Regions from separate parts of the Homo sapiens genome. Here all the other regions are linked to region 3. Evidence: promoter capture Hi-C in 16 types of primary human blood cells and fetal thymus (Javierre and others, 2016). All regions are on one chromosome and are shown on one strand. Each heading gives the region's core, a stretch centred on a gene start or on the middle of the fragment in contact. The rest is flanking DNA. Distances are from core to core; before and after follow the strand shown. Region 1 holds the start of FAM199X (family with sequence similarity 199, X-linked). Region 2 holds the start of GK (glycerol kinase). Region 3 holds the start of RLIM (ring finger protein, LIM domain interacting).

Region 1 (3,462 bases), core at 360-2,859, about 30 Mb before region 3:
CTCCCTGAAAAGAAATGGCTGGAAGCCTATGGTCCTCTCAAGCACCATCTTGAGGAGGGGTAAGAAAGCAGAACATTGCAGAAGGATAATACATTTAAAAGGCAAGGTAGCCTAGGACAGAAACATCATGTGCTGTGAATATCGCTAATTTTGCTTCCCCTACTCTCTGCTGAAAAGGATACAGAGCATTAGAACCCCTGCCACCATGCCAAGCCTTGCGAAAAGTAGGGTAGGAGAGGGAAGTTAAAAAAAAAAAAAAAAAAAGCAAGCAGTAACTAGGAAAAATGCTTGACTTGGAAAAACTGGGGCTTGCAAAGAACCTCCTTCTCCCCTCCTCACTGCCCCATTGAAAAACAGTCCTGACCTCACCACAGTCTTTAAGGGAAAGAAAACACAGGAAAAAACGGGGAGGAGGAAGGAACAGAACAAGTTGTAAGAAACATATTATTCTCATAACTTCACTCCCCATCACCTCTACCCAGTTTTGGCAGTACTTACCCACAGCCTCTGCCCTCACTCCCTTGCCCTCATCATCACAGCAGGATCATTCTGAAATTATTTAACTTTCCTGGGTATGTGACTTGCTCCAAGGCTGCAAAACTTAAATGCCAAATATGTACAAAGGTATTCTTTTACATTATTTTTCAACATAAATAACCCTAAGCACACTTGATTTCATGAATATGTTACATTCACATTACAGTGACATCAGGGGTTAAATAGGCTTCTGTGAGTTGGTCTAGGAAACCATAAGTTCTATTTGTAACACTGGATCAATTAGTTCTGCTCCAAGTTTAATCATTGGCTTCAAAGGAATAGTCTTGGATTTGCTTGACTAGGTTTTATGACCTTGAACTCAATCTTTTCTTTCTGGGCCTGTTTCTTCATTTTTTGCAATGACGATTTAGAGTAGTCATAATAAATTTACTGCCACTTCCTTTTGAGATGTGTTATACTGATATTCTGATTATTTAACTATAACACCTTGTTTCCATAGACTATAACTTTCATTTATGTAAGAAACATCTTTTACACATTCCTTGTATCTGGTAGAAGCTCATTCAATCTACAGACTGATTTAAGGGAAGGGAGGGGAGAAATATGCTAAAGACATTAAAATATGGAAGAATTTGATCAAACTCACATCATAAACTTGGATCAGAAGTCAGAACTAGATTTCTTAATTTATCTCCAGTATTTTCCATAGCTGAACCCCTCTCCTAGAGCCTTAACCACACACCCCCCCAGCCCTTTGTATATGTATCTCAAATATCCACCTATGTTAAAACTTGAGGCTGTATCTAGAACGTCTTCAACCCACCCCCCAAGATTTGATCTAACACGTAAATGCTTGCATGAGAGAAGTCTCCAGAACACTACCTTCTACTGAAATCAGTTAGGAGGAGATACACCCTCTGAATAAATTTGTGTAAGTCAGTCCATCCTAAGCCTTACTCTGTCTCTTCAAAGGGGAAGGAAACCAAGGGATATGTCATATGAAGGAATCCTCCAGATTTAAGCTTACCAATTTTGGCAGAGCCTAAAGCGCTAAGGCAAACAGTTAATAAAGGAGGAGGAAAAAAAGAGAGAATCGACTAGTTTCCTAGCGCTCAACTAAAAAAAAAAATGGGGTAGGGGTGGTGGCGGCGGGGGGAACAGGACTGTGAGACAGATTAAAAATAGGGAAAATGAAGCTTCTAGCTTTAAATGTTCCACCTTTCAACGCCACTTTTCAAAAGATCTATGGATTGATCTTGAGCCATCCAAATTCCTCTACAGCGTACCGGAAATGGAAGGGGTTAAACTTTTGCAGATGGATGCAAACAGGGGCGTATCTAAAAATCAAGGGTGGGGGTTTGGGATTCGTAGGGTACAGATGGGGGGAGGGAAGGGAAGCAAGGGAGGGAGAAGGTAGGGAAGGGAGGAGTCGCTATAGCCAGAATATGAATGAGGAAAAGAGAGTAAAACGCCGGTCGAAAGGAAAATAGGAGGGCAGGGGTGAAAATAGGGAGGGGGGGCAGGGAAGGAGGCCGGGAATGAGCGCTGGTCGAAAGCAGGTGGGGGAGGGGGCGACTGGAAGCGCAGCCCGGGACGAAGGATCAGGAGCGGGGGGCGACCAGAAGTGGAAAATCCACCCCTGCCCTCAGGTGCAGTTCGTACCTGTTGGTGTGGAAGCGGTGGAGCGGGTCGGTGCGATGGCAGGAGGACAGCTGGCAGCCGAAGTCGCTGATGTCCAGGCAGCCCGGCTCCTCGCTCGGGCAGGTGCCCACCCCGCGAGGAGGTCCCAGGAGTGGGAAGGGCTCCTCGGGGGTTAGAAACTTCTCGTAGGAAGTGATGGCCGAGGCCTCGTCGGACATGGTTGGAGATGGCCTGGCTCGGGCTCCCTCTCTGGCCCTGGGCTGCTCCCGCGCCCGCCCCTGCCCCCACTCTAACCTGTCCGCAGTCGCCGACGCTCCGGGGTGTGCCCGTCGCAGCTCACTGGCAGGCTGGGCGTCGCGGCCCGCTGCTGCTTGCCGGGGTGCGGGGCCGCGCGAAGAGGCTGCTCGAGGCCACAGCGGCCCACCGGCCACCCAGTTAGCGCCCCGGTGGCCTCTGCAGCTTCCGCCGCCGCCAGACTCAGCCCGTCAGCGCAGCGCCGCCGCCCGGCCCGGCCAGGCCCGCCCCGCCCACTGCGCTCGCCGCTTGCGACTGCAGCAGTCTGCCCGGCGCCCGCAAGGAGGGGAAGGGCGGCGGGAAGCCACTCCCCGTGCCCCCTGCTGGACCGGAGGAGGAACTGAACCTCCGCCCGCCGCGGCCCCAAGCGGCCCGCCCCGCCCTCTACGCATCGAATCAGGGATTCAGGCCGCTAGAAAGGCTAGGCGCCTCTGGCCAACCTCCTCCTCCGCTTTCTCACTCGTACTCGACTACTAAGCAGGAACCGCAGTCCCAGAAAAGGGACTTGGCCAAGGTCACACTGCGGGTGCGTGAGAAAACATCCAGATGCCCTGGTTCCCAGCGCACTCTTTCATTCTGTCCCAATTCAACAAGTATTTATTGAGCTCCTGCAGTGTGTGCCCAGCACCGTGCAATGAGGTGTAGGAGAAATCGTCCAAGCAGGGAAAATAGTCCCTTCCTCACCCTTGATCACCTAACTCCAAGAACCCTACGCTGCAGCCACTCGCCTACTCAGAGCTGCTGGACACGTCGTACTCTTTTGTGCTTTGCGCCTTTTGCTCATAGGCACCCTGCTTGGAATGCCCTGCCATTTCTCCCCTGCTAATCCTTCAAACTCCAGCTCAAACGTTATCTCCTCAGTGAAGCCTTCCCTGACTCCCAAAGGAGACTAAGGCACACCTGCTAATTTGCCCCCTCCCTCCCGTAGAAAATATATTATGGAGCTTAACTTGTTCAACTTGAATCAACTTGTTAGGTGTTATATAGTGTACTTTGCTGTTTATCTCATCTCTCTTCTCTATATTCTGG
Region 2 (3,509 bases), core at 383-2,882, about 44 Mb after region 3:
AAAAAAAGATATGTCAGGATCAAAGCACAAATGCAGTTTTTAGTCAAGTGCCAGCTCTGACAGAACTTTGAAAAAATATATACATTGTATGTATAATGCCTATGTATAAATATACACATATGTGTATATATGTACAGATATATACATACTAAATAACACAGGAAAACATGATTTGCGGTAAAGTGAAGAGCTAAATAATCATTAAATATTTACATCAACTTGCCAAGTTAGTCAAATATCCATTGAAAGCATGGGCTTTTATCAGCAGGCATTCATTTCAATTACTTTTATTTATTTTTTATTTATTTTTATTTTTTTGAGACAGAGTCTCGCTCTGTTGGCTAGGCTGGATTGCCCAGGCTGGAGTGCAGTGGTGTGATCTCTGCTCACTGCAACCTCCGCCTCCCGGGTCCAAGTGATTCTCCTGCCTCAGCCTCCCGGGTAAGTAGGATTACAGGCGCCCGCCACCACGCCCAGCTAATTTTTGTTATGCCAGGTTGGCCAGGCTGGTCTCGAACTCCTGACCTTAGGTAATCCACCCGCCTCAGCCTCCCAAACTGTTGGGATTACACGTGTAAGCCACCGCGCCCGGCCTCAATTACTTTTAAATTATCTTACTGAACTCTGTGCTAGGTCACTTTAAGAGCAAGTTTACTAATTGCACAAAAATTAATCAGCAGTCACTTAAATAGCAATCTTTTGTGGTAAAACTGTGCTGTCACACATGGTAAATAAAAAGAGAAACAGAATTTCCGTGTCGCATTATGCTGTGAAGCACAGTAAGGACAATCATTTGTTTGTAATGGGCAAAGTCTCAGAACTGAAATTTGCGAGTCTTCGGAATTAAATAAAGATTATGGCAAAACCAGTGTAGTGTGACTGTTTCCTAATTTGTTCTGCCACCCTCCCCAGTATTCAACCCTCTGCAATTTTTATGGGAGAGGATGACAACGCATCATCACTCCAATACTTTATTCGTTCTACTGCTGGAAAGGACGCTGTGTTAGCTACCACAGCCGTGACACAGCTTTCCCCCCATCCAAGGACGTCCTGTGTCTCGCAGGCCAAATGTTCCTGGGGAAGACCGCGGTAGCCGTCAATGTGGCCACCTGTCCCCTACTGCAAGCGGGCCGCTCTGCGCGGATGCTCGGAGAGTCCCTGCTCCCTTTGGGGGAAGAGTCACCCCATTAGTAGGTGACCCAGCTCCGCCACCAAAACTGCGACTGTTCAACTCGGCCATGGGGGTCATGAGAGGCCGAGGTCCCCCAGGCCTGGCTGGGGCATCCCCAGTGTGGCAGGTCCCGTTCCGGCCTCCCTCCTTGCCCAGCGGCCGGGGCACCGGGCCGGAGAGATGCGGGATGGGGACACAACAGCCACCCCCTCCGTCCCCCGACTCCCGCCCCGGCTCAGCGCCTCTTCACATGTCACCCCGGGCTCACCAAAAAGCGCGTCGAACTGGTGCCCTGGTCCACCGCCCCCACCAATGGCCCCAAAACTGCCTTCTTTGAGGCTGCCATGAAACCAGCTTCAGGTCGGCCGGCGATTGCGGCCGGTTTCCTGGGTGACGGCGGCGGGAGGGGGAGGGGCAGGTGACGAGTCCAGAGATCGAGGCCGCGCGCGTCCGCTGAACGCTCGGACCGCGCTCGAGGCGGCCCCTTTACCCGCGCGCAGCCTTCTCACCCCGCCCCTCCGGCCCAGGCCCCGCCCCCCACCGCGTACCCCCAAGGCTCCAGGGGCGTGTCAGGGGGGGTGGGGGTGGGCGCTGTCACCTGGGCTGGCCAATCAGCAAACGCAAAAGAGCCGAACGCTCGGACAGGCAGAGGGCGATGAGACGTCACGGGGGCGGGGCCTGGGCGCGGTGGAGGCGGCGGCCCGCGCAGTAGGTCACGTGGGGGCCCGGCGAGCGGACAGCAGAGCCATCCAGCTGCATGGCATGGGGCGGAGACGAGTACTGCCCTTTGGCAGGCAGCGCTCCTGGCCGGCGAAAAGAGCGCACTTCCACTAGTGTCCTGGGGCTCGCCTCCATAGGGGTCTCAAAGTGTGTAGAACTGCTTGTTCCCTCCAGTGGGCTGTGCAGAGTCGTGCAGCGACGTGAGTCGCTGTGTGGACCTACCCGGCCCGGCCTTCCCGCGTTTCCCACGCCCCGCCCACCTCCCTGCATCTGGCCCCTGGTAATCGTAATCATTCCTTTGGCTGGGATTGACCCCATATAGGGTCACCTCAAGGAGCAACGCGAATCCTTCACCGTTGCAAGCTTTTCAGGGACAAGAAACGCGGAAGTTCTTTCGGTTTAGCATTTAAGGAAAGCACCCAAAATCAACCTCCCCAAGTTCCTCTATCGACCATTCAGGCAGAAGGCGCCCGGCACCACTCCGTCCTGACGCGCCCTTGCTCCTCGTTTGGCCTCACTCTGCGGTCCCCTCCCCCACACGCCATTTCCTCTCCCTCCATTAACTGCTTTGGATGGCAGGGGACAGAAAAGGGACTCTCCCTTGACCTTGAATTTACCTTGCCCGGATCCTTCTGGATCCTGTGTTCTAAGGGCTTTCAAACTTGGAACCAAGACCCACACTGTGAAACAGTTTACAAAACAAACCCAGGCTCCAGTGTGTGTGGGCGGGGAGCACATTTGTAGTTACAATTGTTACACATGTAAATACATGTTATATACATCTAATATACATTTATGTATGTATAGAAAAACTTTCCAAAACAATATTTGTCCTTCCACAGTATGCATTCTGTATTTTTATTCTATGGCATATCATTTTTTTTTAATGCTGATTGAAAATCACTAAATTGCTTTTGTAACCCACCATGCTCTCTATCAATTTTAAAAGCACTCCGCTATACCCACTGTCATTTCTTTCCATCCCTTTCCCAAATCTCTGTGTTCTGGAACATCATTTCTTTTCCTTTTTTTTTTTTTTCCTTTCTTACCTTGCTCTACACCACGTCACTTGTCCATCTCTGTTTGTATAGTTTTACCACACATGATCTGAAAGCAAATTTTCCTAAACACCGTCTAGACCTCACATTCTAATGTTCCAGATGAAGCCTGCTTATGGACATACTAGATTTAATAACTATCGATAAACTGGCTTGCTTTAATATAAGAGTGAAGATGAGTCAGTATCTCTGAATTTCCTGGAAGAGGAAAAGAGGGAGACAGGCATATAAGCAAGGAACCAGGCCAACTTGCCTCTAAAAACAGTGAAAGGCATTAGTTGAGTGAATGATATAGAAAAGGATTTTCTTGGTTCTAGAAGGCAGTAAAAACAAAGCCACCAAACCTACCACATCGATCCATTAAAAAAAAAAAATCCCTGACCACGTTTGAACTTTCACATACTTTTGACTCTCAGATTCCAACAGGACAGCAAATTATTTGTTTGGCAGCACAATGGGATCAGAATTCAGACATTTCAGAATAAGTTGGGCTAGATGTACATGGGGGATTCTTAAATTTGTTGATCCTATGGTTCCTACAACAATGTGTATTCCACATC
Region 3 (3,666 bases), core at 1,141-3,640:
TGCATCCCCAAGGCTATAGAAATATTAACCTAGGCCTGGACAGTGGCTCACGCCTGTAATCCCAACACTTTGGGAGGCCCAGGCAGGCGGATCATGAAGTCAGGAGTTGGAGACCAGGCTGCCCAACATGGTGAAACCTCATCTCTACTAAAAATACAAAAATTAGCCAGGCGTGGTGGTGCATGCCTGCAATCCCAGCTACTGGGGAGGCTGAGGTAGGAGAATCGCTTGAACCCAGGAGACGGAGGTTGCAGTGAGCTGAGATCATGCCACTGGACTCCAGCCTGGGCAACAAAGCAAGACTCCATCAAAAAAAAAAAAGAAAGAAAGAAGGAAGGAAGGAAGGAAGGAAGGAAGGAAGGAAGGAAGGAAGGAAGGAAGAAAGGACAGAAATAGTAACCTGTATTTTCTTCCACTTCTTTTATGATTTTATATTTTAGATTAAGCCACATAAGCCTCAAGAATACGTTAAGGAGTGGCTAATGTTATTGCCATAATCAGAATATCAGGCTTAATGGCAATTGCAGGCTACTGAAGAATTCCTTTTACACGTTCTAGGTAATCGTTCTAGTACATGATTATGTAAAATAAGACAAAAACCTGAGTAGAGACACAGCGCCTAAATCATGTATCCCTCTGCCAAAAATGACAATATCAATGAGTCTTCTAGGGAGTTGGGCAGGTAAGTATGAGGGATATTGTTTTAACTGCTTGGAGTGAAATACTTATATTCCAGGCTGATATAACATCCATCATGGTGAGGGGGTAATTCTCCCAAAGTATTTTGAGGGCTTACTATGTGGTCGCTGGGGACACAACAGTGAACAAAACAGAGAGGTTTACTGCTCAGAAAGGGTGAAGTAAACAAACAAATAAATAACTTACTTTCAGATTAAGTGTTTTACAAGAAAAGTAAGCAGGTAAGGAGATGGGAGAAGTCGTTATTACTTTTTTCTTTTTTTTTTTTTCCTCAGACCTTTTTCCGCCTTCAGGAAGAAGTTATTTTAGGTAGGGTGGTCAGGGAAGGCTTCTCTAGGAAGTTAATAATTGCGAGGCTTGGATGATGAAAGCAAAGATATGAAAGTAAAATATTCCAGCAAAGGTAAAGTAGTTGAAGTAGGAAGAAGTTAGCTTTGTTGGAAAAACCGTAACAAAGCCAGCATAGCTGGCATGCTATTGGAAAACAGAAAAATTGGGAAAAGGAAAAGAATCTAAAAACTTGGGTAAGGTTTTCCTTTAACTGTGACAATGGGAGTGGCATGCTGTGTGGCGAGTTCCCTCAATTCTTTCAGGCATTACTACCTAAGAAAGGCCTTCTTTAACTGCCCTTTTACAAATCCCAACGTTATCAGATTTTCCCACCCTTTTACAATCACCGCCCTTTTTCGAATACTTTAGAGTTAATGCCTCAAAGTTATCAGTCTTTTAAACATCACGAATCCGTTTGTCCCTACAAGGAACTCTTCTGTCCCCCTTCCTTGATTTTTCTCCTTGGCATTTATCACTAACATGATATGTATTTATGTTTGATTTTTTCTAAATTATTGTCCCTGGCCCCTATAAAGACTCAAGAGAACTGGGATTTTGATCTGTTTTCTTTTTTTTTTTTTTTTTTTTTTTGAGACACAGCCTTGCTCTGTCACCCAGGCTAGAGTGCAGTGGCGAGATCCCGGCTCACTGCAATCTTCGCCTCCTGGGTTCAGCTATTCTCCTGCCTCAGCCTCCCGATTAGCAGAGATTACAGGCGCCCGCCACCACGCCCGGCTAATTTTCGTATTTTTAGTAGAGACTGGGTTTCACCATGTTGGCCAGGCTGGTCTCGAACTCCTGACCTCAGGTGATCCGCCCGCTTCGGCTTCCCAAAGTGCTGGGATTACAGGCGTGAGCCACCGAACGTGGCCTGTTTTCTTTCTTAATTTTGGTCTATTTTAATTTCCTAAGCAGCTACAATGGTGCTTGACATGCAGTTGGCACTGTGTAAATACATGTTGAATAAAACGCAGGCTACTTTTTGAACTGGTCTGCACGGATTGTGTGAACTGATGTGATGTCAGGGTAGACTAATATCACATTTCTCTCTCTCTGAAAATGTCTTCAAGCAGTCAGACCGTGACGTCCTTCAGTTTTCAAAATGGGAAAGCGAAGGTTCCCACAATTCTCAGAACGCAAATTTCTCGCCACAATTCAAAATGGCGGAGGAGGGTGGGGCCTGTCACATGGTGGGCGTCATAACAGCTTTCCTTTTCCAAACCGCCGCCCGCCTTGCCGCGTCGTCTGCCGTCCCCCTCCTCCTCCCGCGGAGCCTTTTCGAGGAATCGACTGGGATTGGCTAATAGGCTGGGAGTGGGGCTGCGGTGCCGGGACGCGGCATCATCACTTCCTGTTGTGGGCAGTCGTTTCCTGTCGCTGCTTGGTAACAATGGGGAAGATAATGGCTGCCTGAGCAACGTCTCCGAGCAGGCGCTGGGCTAGAGGCGGGTCTCAACCAGCTACTCATTGGAGGCGGGCTTGAGAGCGGCGGCCAGGGAGGTGCGGAGCAGCCTCGGCGGCGGCGGCCGAACCAACCGAGTCGGATCCTGACCCTAAAACCTAGTAAGTGAAGACTTGGGAATCCTGTGAGAAATGATGTAGAGCGAGAGGAAGACAGCGGAGCCGCGGCTGCCGCGTTCTCTCAAAATGGCCCGAGTGACGCGTCGTGGCAGAGGCTCAGCGCCGCCTCCGGACCCCAGGCCCGTTGCTGCGGGGGGCTCCGTGGCGTAGTCGCCGCTGCCATTTTAGTTGAGTGGTATAGTCGACAGGCTCTTTGAAGGGGAAGGAGGTGGGTAGTACTTCCTCTCGGTGGCCGCGCGAGCTGCAGCCCAGGCCCTCCGGAGCCTTAGGAAATCGGGGGAGGCAGTTTTTGAGTTTTGGCCTCAGGCGTCAGAATCTTAGAACGTCTCAGGCTTTTTCTTCTCTGTTCTCTGGAGGCTTCCCTGACCTCCCCGCGTTTTCCATGGCGGGCTTGGGTTTGGGAAAAGGGAAGTAAAAAATCAGGCTGCCCCAAGTGAGATGCTGGCAACTCTTGGGCCTTTAGATTTCCAAAACCTCATTTTGAGCCCTTCTGCAGGGTATTACCAATTAGGCGCCCCCTGGGGCCGCGATGACATCTTCCCTGAGGATCTGAGGCAAATGTGGTTTACTCCCTTGCTCGAATAACCCTGGCATATCCTTTGCCAGGTATCACTGGAAGGATCCCCCCGCAAAAGAGAGGGAAAAGCCGTTAGGTGTTTGTTGTGTTCTCCTGGATAAGGGATGGAATTGGGCCAAATTTTCAAGTTAATTTGTGTTTAATCCACCAACAACTCAATCCCTCCCCCATTAAAAAAAAAAAAAAAAGCCTAGGGGGGTCTCTGCTTCTGCAGACGGTACCTGCCACGCATGCCATAGCTTAGTAACTAGTATTAACCGGTTGGGCTTCTGCTTCCTGAATACTCGGTCCCTTTTTCCCTTATGCTGATTAATTTCAAGATGGAGGAGACAGCCACGTTCCTTCCCTAGACAGTTTCACCATACTTATTCCACAGGTTAGTCTGGGAATCTGAGGCCTAGCAGTCTTGTTATTGAGGTCATTTTTTTTTTCATTTTGGGGCAAGAGGAAGCAGTTGTATCAGATTGTCATCTTCCATT

Evidence for each region. Contacts are between HindIII fragments. The CHiCAGO score rates a contact against its expected background, and 5 or more counts as called.
Region 1: a fragment that was not itself captured here is called in contact with the fragment with the promoter of RLIM in region 3 in 1 of 17 cell types (total CD4 T cells); the score reaches 5.6 in total CD4 T cells.
Region 2: a contact is called between the fragment with the promoter of GK here and the fragment with the promoter of RLIM in region 3, in 2 of 17 cell types (naive B cells and naive CD4 T cells). The highest score is 7.9, in naive B cells.

Annotation. Positions count from the first base shown.
Region 1 is chrX:104,165,681-104,169,142 of GRCh38, reverse strand. FAM199X (family with sequence similarity 199, X-linked) reads right to left here and starts at 2,690. Exons shown (of 6, transcript NM_207318.4): 1 at 2,161-2,690. The coding sequence starts at 2,357. RefSeq lists an enhancer at 2,348-2,848 and a silencer at 2,413-2,902. The HindIII fragment of the contact is 174 bases long and covers 1,523-1,696 here.
Region 2 is chrX:30,651,546-30,655,054 of GRCh38, reverse strand. GK (glycerol kinase) reads right to left here and starts at 1,632. Exons shown (of 21, transcript NM_001205019.2): 1 at 1,440-1,632. The coding sequence starts at 1,517. RefSeq lists a silencer at 1,543-1,962. The HindIII fragment of the contact is 2,269 bases long and covers 1-2,256 here.
Region 3 is chrX:74,613,348-74,617,013 of GRCh38, reverse strand. It overlaps RLIM (ring finger protein, LIM domain interacting), which reads left to right and starts at 2,390. Exons shown (of 4, transcript NM_016120.4): 1 at 2,390-2,592. RefSeq lists an enhancer at 2,466-2,785. The HindIII fragment of the contact is 9,843 bases long and covers 1-3,666 here.